Linked DNA regions of Homo sapiens: region 1 is linked to region 2. The links are contacts of gene promoters, found by promoter capture Hi-C in human tissues and cell types (Jung and others, 2019). All regions are on one chromosome and are shown on one strand. The core of a region is centred on a gene start or on the middle of the fragment in contact, and the rest is flanking DNA. Distances in the headings are between cores, read along the strand shown. Region 1 overlaps CBFB (core-binding factor subunit beta). Region 2 holds the start of SLC9A5 (solute carrier family 9 member A5).

Region 1 (3,684 bases), core at 45-2,544, 200 kb after region 2:
TTGAGATGGAATTTTGTTCCCAGGCTGGAGTGCAGTGGCGCGATCTTGGCTCACTGCACCCTCTGCCTCCCAGGTTCAAGTGATTCTCCTGCCTTAGCCTCCCGAGCAGCTGGGACCAGAGGCACCCACCACCATGCCCAGCCAATTTTTGCATTCCTAGTAGAGACGGGGCTTCACCATGCTGGCCACGCTAGTCTTGAACTCCTAACCCCAGGCGATCCACCCGCCCTGGCCTTCCAGAGCACTGGGACCAAAGGCACGAGCCACGGCACCTGACCCAGTAAAAAAATGGCCAAGAAATGTTCTGGATAGCAAAGGGATGGATAGAAACTCAGGACTAAAAAGCTGGTGTGAATAAATATCCTAAAAAAAAAATTTAAAGGGTTCTCCCAAATGGCTCATTACTTAGAACACTGTTCTGCAAACAGGGCCACACGATTATTAGAAACTATCATTGTTATTATATGGAACAAACTTTGAACATCTATGATATGGGCAGATTTGTTTATTTGAAAACATCTACATTCTTCTAATGTAAATGTCGAAGTCACAAGTTTCTAGGCCATCCTTTTGTTTTAATCTGAAGATTAACCTGTCTTTACATCTGAAGTTTTAAAACACAAAAAGGCTCAGTACTGACTGCATACATGGGTAAAAGGTTTTTCATCCACAAAAACAACCTGCCAACCATCCCCAGACTCAGCCCTTTCCCTCTTAGGTACAGCCTGCATTAGAGTCCTGAAAGCACAGCAATACTGCCAAGAGGCACGTTTTATTTTTTTAAATAGTTTCCACACATGGCATTGAAGACATTTCAAATGGTATTTATTTATTGAGACAGAGTCTTGCTGTGTTGCCCAGGCTACAGTGCAGTGGCATGATCTCAGCTTATGCCTGGCTAATTTTTTTTTTTTTTTAGTAGAGACGGGGTTTCACTATGTTGGCCAAGCTGGTCTTGAACTCCTGACCTTGTGATCTGCCTGCCTTGGCCTCCTAAAGTGCTGGGATTACAGGTATGAGCTACTGCGCCCGGCCCTTCAAATGTTATTTAAAATTCTTAGTTCCTAAACACACATCAATTTGAGGAGGCCCAGCTTAAACTGAAAAGCTTATAACAGATAATACTTTCCAACTGTTCACGTGCATACTTTCATAAAAAAAGGAACAATAATTAAAGTCTACCATATCACTATTATACTTTAGCTTGTCTGTAGCTTCCAATCCTCTGTACAAAACTAAGCATCAAAGAATAATATTGAAGAAACAAAGTCTCTGCACCTGAAGGTAAACAGCATTTTTATGCTGTTAAAAAGAAATTACAAACGTTTTCTTCCCTGTAAGATGAGGATCACAAAAGTATCAGTGCATGTATGTCTGCATCAATTAGAACACTACCTGCAAGGGGGCATGAGGGAACTTTTTGAAGCAATGGTGAACTTTGGTGGTGGTTATACTACTGAATACACAGTTGTCACAGACTTGTACACTTAAAATAGGTGAACTGTACTACATGTAAATTATACCTCAATAATGCTGATTGAAAAACTACAAGTGAAAATGGGAAATAGTAAAACTAGGGCATAGCAGTGCTACAAAGAAATTAACATCTTCAGACAACAACATTTCAATAGTCTTTATCCTGGCAGCATTTGAATTAACCATTAAAAAAAAATGATGGGTACATGCCTGTAATCCCAGCACTTTGAGAGGCCAAGGCGAGAGGATTGCTTGAGTCCAGGAGTTTGAGACCAGCCTGGGCAACATGGTGAGACCCCCATATCTACAAAAAAATTACCTGGGCATGGTGGCGCGTGCCTGTGGTTCCAGCTACTTGGGAGGCTGAGGTGGGAGGATCGCTTGAGCCCAGGAGGCAGAGGTTGCAGTAAGCCAAGATCACACCACTGCACTCCAGCCTGGGTGACAGAGAGATATCTAGTTTCAAAAACAAACAAACAACAACAAAAAAGGCCAGGCACAGTGGCTCAGAGCGCCTATAATCCCAACACTTTGGGAGGCCAAGACAGGCGGATCACCTGAGGTCAGGAGTTTGAGACCAGCCTGGCCAAAATGGTGAAACCCCATCTCCAATAAAAACACAAAAATTAGCCAGGTGTGGTGGCGGGTGCCTGTAATCCCAGCTACTTGGGAGGCTGAGGCAGGAGAATCGCTTGAACCTGGGAGGCGGAGGTTGCAGTGAGCCAAGATTACATCACTGCACTCCAGCCTGGATGACAGAGCAAGACACTGTCTCAAAAAAAAAAAAAAAAATGTAGAAAGTAGAAGGAAGGAGGGGAAGAGTGAAGGATGCTCTTCTCAGACATATTATTTCTGCCTTCTCTCACTTGGAATATGTAATTCAGGAAAGGTCATGAAAGAGAATTTCACCTTTACACTAAAATGGAAATAATGCAATCCAAAAGAAGAGAAAACGGGACTTCACAATCTTCAAGTGCTTCAGAGGTGCATTTACCATGTATGCAGATTCACGTACTCTAACTGGAAGGTACTATGACATACTAATTTTAAAACATTTTAATTTTTTTTTTTTCAGACAGAGTCTTGCTCTGTTGCCCAGGCTGGAGTGTTGTGGTACAATCTCAGCCCACTGCAACCTCCGCCTCCCGGGTTCAAGCAATTCTCCTGCCTCAGTCTCCCAAGTAGCTGGGATTACAGGCACATGCCAGCATACCTGGCTAATTTTTTGTATTTTTAGTAGAGGTGGGGTTTCATCACGTTGGCCAGTCTGGTCTCGAACTCCTGACCTCAGGTGATCCACCTGCCTCGGCCTCCCAAAGTGCTGGGATTACAGGCATGAACCACCCCACCTAGCCAAAACATTTTAATTTTTTCAGAAAGTCGACTTCCTCTCTTAGATTGAAAAATAACTAAAATAACTAAAATAAAAACTTTTCTTTAAAAATACAAACGCTCTGCCAGCTACAAAGGTGTCAAATATATATATATATATAAGCTTGCAGTTACCAGTTCTAAATTTTATGATTCCGTTATTATTAGAGTATTATAGTTTATCTAAAGCATATTTTTAAAAACCAGATTTCAATACACTAAACTGTCAATAACTAAGTGCTGTCAATTCATATTTTAGTCGAACTGAAATACTTAAAATCCAGATGTGACAAGGTATTTGTAAAGTTGTCTAATTTCTCTTGAAGAAAATCACACTCCAAAGCTTTACCATAGAGATCTTTTATTTGGAATGACTGGGCTATCTACAGAGAAGGAACTTCTTGAGCTTAAATAGGGATTTCTCAAAGCTAACATCAAGAAGTCCTGTAAACTCTGCCAAATTGTGGATGGTATATAAACAAACACAATATGTATTTTGGGACAAAGATCCTGCAGGCAAGTGCGTAAATGGTACCAGAAGAAGCAGAATCATAGACCTTTATTAGAAAAGGCCATTTAAAATAAAATTCTGTCCTCACTCATTAAATCCAATCTTGTTAGATTTTGCTTTATTTTATGCTCATAAAAATAAATTAAAAGACTTTTAAGTATAAAGTCCAGAAAGAAAAAAAATACAACTTATCAAAATTTTTAAAAGTAGCTACTCTAATGACATATACTTAATAAATACTTCTCGATGTCTGACATTAATGTATTTGACTATCAATTAAAATCATAAGCTATAAACAAGAATGTAACAACCATAGAAAAGTTTAA
Region 2 (3,805 bases), core at 1,111-3,610:
ATAATGTCCTCACTCCTTAACTAGACCAGAATGTATATTATACCTCCTAGGAGCTGTGTAGACTTCCTAGCCCAATGTGCTTTTCATTATATGGGCTCACTCAGGACTGCGTAGTTTTTAAAACTTTGGCTTTAGCAATCAGAAGATCTCCAGGTCTTCTTCCAGCCTTAGCACATTCTATGTGATCTCAGGCAAATTATTTAACTTACTTGAACTTCAATTTCTTCTTTTGTAATATAGGAAAAATACCCAGCATCAAGGGTGAGGATAAAATGATATAAAGTATGCAAATGTGCCTAGCATAATGTCAGACACATAGTATGTTAGACACACACCAAATGTTAATTAAATAGAACAGTTCTGTCTGTAGGAGGGGAGAAGAAAAGCGTTTCTAGCACTATAGCCACTCCTACTTTTGTCCTCTAAAATAAACTCTTTGGCTCTCCTTTAAGTCCTCAGACCACAAGCGAACACATCTCTCTCTACATAATCCCTGGGGTGTTGGGGAAGGAGACCTCTAAATTAGCCTCTGTGAGACCCTATGCCAAGACAGTGCCCTTTGGAAGCTGTACCCAAAGGGCCTAGAACAGTGCCTGGCACATAGTGAGCTCTATGTAAATATTTGTTTAATAAAAGGGAAAAAGTCTCCTAGCAATGAAGCTGGGGGAAGGTGTTCCTGAATGCTCTGCCTTTTCTCTTGTTCGAGGATTTTCTTTGACTTGTGAAAAGGAGGCTCTCTTCTCTTACTTCCATAGGAAATGTCATCCAAACTAGAAAAAGAACCATGATTTATGGGGAAAACTACAGTTTTTGCTATAAACCCTAAGACAGGAACTCTTCTGCAACTCACAGACTTAGCAAACCCAATCGTTGGCTCCAAACCTGAGGCTCTTTCTACTCTTACTCTCATTGCTGCTGGACCTCTAAGGTAAACATGGTCATAGATCTCTCCATACTTGTCCCTACTTTGGTCTCCCACTTCTCTCCTTCGGGGACCCTATTTCATCTTCATCTCTTCATGCATTAACCCCAGCCCCGAGATCCAAGCCCCATCACAGAACCACGCTCCCGGAAGGCATATTGAGTTCCACTTTCCATTATTAATCTCAGGCTGCCACAGCAGAGTGGAGAGTTCTGTTCCTGCCCAGCCCCCTCACCCCCTAGCAGTGTCCATGTGGGAGAAGAGGGGCAAATTCTAGGCTCTGGGTGATTCCTCCATGAAGGCTGTATTGGTGAGACTGGAGTACAGGCTGTGCCAGCATCCATGGGGAGAGAGTAGCAACGCTCAGCTATAATTAGTCACCCCCACAGCAGAGCCAGCACAACAGGGAGAAGGAGGAGGGTCTCTGGTGGGAGGAGGGACCACTGGCTGCTCAGAAGGGAGGAGGAAGGAGCAGATGCAAGGAAAAGCAGCTCTATTCAGGGAAAAAGAAGTCTGAAGCACAGCCTTCAATGCTGTCAGGACTGAAGAGGTCGGATGTATGAAAGCATCTAGGGTAGACAGCACACAGGAAGGCCCCGATACACGGAAGTTTCTTATACCCTGAAGTGAGAAGAATGTGGACCTGAACGTGGGTTGGGGGGGTACCCATACACAGGCACAAGAAGGCAGCAGCTTTAAGTGGGGAGCAGGGGAGAGCTGGAGGAAAAGTGGCAGTGTAGTTTCCCAAGGGAATGGACACTCGGACATGGTCTCCAGGGAAGGCTGCTTTTTCAGAACCAGGATGCCTGTGTTCTTGGGAGAACACCCTCCCCTCAATGTCCCCACACATCCTCACCAGCGACAGAGGTTTCTGGGAGGCTAGGGATTGGTGGGGGAGAGACCAGACTGAAGAGGGCCTACTGCAAGGGGAAGAGGGGAGCGGAGAGGGCAAAGGAGCCTACAGATGGAGTTGGGGAGAGCGGGGGACAGCCCTTCAGAAAGGCAAATCCTCAGAGCTCCCAGGGGAGAAGACAGGGACCTGGGACCCACAAGAAGCGATGCAGGAACTGGGCGAGAGCCCGGATTTGTGGAATCCAAACCTAAGTCCCAGCACCGTGCAAGAAGCCAGCCCCAATCTGAGGACCGAGGAGGTGGGGGTGTTGGGGGCGGGTCCGCCGCTGGCGGTCGGCCTGGCGCACGCACACACGCACTCACCGATTTTGGCCAGACTGGCCACCAGGATCCACAGGGCCACCAGGTAGGGCGCCTCCACCTCGTGCCACTGCCAGCGGAAGAGCTCTAAGCCTGGGGGAGGCTCGCCCGGGGACTCTGGCTTCTGGGTGGGCTCTTCGGCCGCCCCCGCCAGGGGCAGCGCGAGCAGGGACAGGGCGGCGCGCAGCATCCTGCCGCCTGCCCAGCCGCCCTCCCGGCACCGCACGGCCGCCGGCCCCGCGTCGCCGCCGCCACCTACCGGGCGCCCCCGCGTCACAGGCACGTGGGGCCCGCTCCCCCCAATCCCGGCTCCGATACCCCCAAGCCAGGTCCAGGCTCCGAGACCCTGCCTCGGACTCTCGTAGTCGGGGACTCTCTCCTCTTTCCTCCCTAAATCAGTCCCAGCTCCGGAAATTCCCCAGTGCAGCTCTCCCCCAAGTTCCACAACCTACTCCTTCGAGTCCGCGCCCCCAAACCTCCCCAAAACCGCCCCCACCAGATCCAGAGCGGTGCGCGGCCACGGCCCCCCTGGGGCAGCCCGCAGCGGGAAGGGCGGGGGTCTGCGGGGGGCGCGGTCAGGACGGGAGGGGCACGGCTCCTCCTCGGCCAGCGCTGCTGTGCGGCGAGCAGCACCCCCCTGGGACCAAGGCGCGGCCGGGTGCAAAACGCAGGGGACCGTGCTTGGCCGCCCTCCGCCCACGTTGCCAAGCCCAGGACCCCCTGCCGGCCCCCACCCGGACCTGAGCTGCGCACGCGCACTGGACGCTCCCCAAAGCAGTGACGGACAACGCTGCCCCCAACGTCCCAGAAACCCTAAGGCCCAGACTGGCCCAGCTCGTGCCAGGCGAAGAGGGAGGCTGTTCTTCATCTCCCAAACCAAGGGGCACCTGGCCCTCCCTTTCAGTCACACTACAGAGAACTGTCTCATCTCTTTGATGAAGCTGACAGGAACCTATGGAAAACCCAGCCTACTGATTCCCTTCAAACTAGGCGAGATGCACCCAACTTTTTCCAAATCTGAGGGGCATTCGGCTCATAGCGCCCCAAACAGAGGAGGACCGTCTCCACTTTTCATTCAGGCTGAGGGGCACCCATCCCACTTTTTCTCCAAAACTGAGGGGAACGTGTTCTATCTGCCCCCTCAAACTGACTCCTCCCAATCTTTTCCCAGAAAACTGAAGGGCATCCTTCCCTCTTCCTCCCACAACTAAAGGGAACTGATCCCACCTCTTCCTTCAAACTGGGTGGAATTTATTCTCACTTCTTGCTCCAAATTGAAGGGACCCCCTCTCACTGCTTTCCCTAAATGAGGAAACCACAGGGACTCACCCCTCAAATGGAAGGAATGAGGGCTATCTTGTCCCTCAACTGAGAGAGACCTGGCCGGCCACTATCTAAAGAAACTTCTGCCCCATCTGCCCTAACACCCCTCAAAGAGAACGCAGCCTCACTATCCCCAGACCAAAGAAAGCCTCCCCGCCTTCTGCGCGTTCTCGAAGGTGGGGCGCGAGCTCGGTTTTTCCCGCCCTCCTAGCCAGTGAACTAACGGGATTCCCATTGGGCCCTGTGAGTGGCTAGCGGCGGCCCCGCCTCCGGCAGTGGTTACCTCCTGGCGCGCACTCGGGGACTAATCTTGGCTCCACCCCCTTCCTCGGCCCCGCCTCCGTCTGG

What was found. The method cuts DNA at HindIII sites, captures the fragments that hold promoters and counts their contacts. A contact is called where the count stands out against the background at its distance.
Region 1: a fragment that was not itself captured here is called in contact with the fragment with the promoter of SLC9A5 in region 2 in 2 of the 25 tissues and cell types used here (dorsolateral prefrontal cortex and hippocampus).

Annotation. Positions count from the first base shown.
Region 1 is chr16:67,044,381-67,048,064 of GRCh38, reverse strand. The region is part of intron 3 of CBFB (core-binding factor subunit beta); the gene reads right to left. Among named protein-coding and RNA genes, the nearest start is that of CBFB, 17 kb to the right of the region's middle. The HindIII fragment of the contact is 7,078 bases long and covers 1-3,684 here.
Region 2 is chr16:67,247,534-67,251,338 of GRCh38, reverse strand. It overlaps SLC9A5 (solute carrier family 9 member A5), which reads right to left and starts at 2,360. Exons shown (of 16, transcript NM_004594.3): 1 at 2,138-2,360. The coding sequence starts at 2,324. RefSeq lists enhancers at 1,622-2,121, 2,122-2,623 and silencers at 2,299-2,408, 2,709-2,798, 2,819-2,908, 3,551-3,805. The HindIII fragment of the contact is 10,180 bases long and covers 1-3,805 here.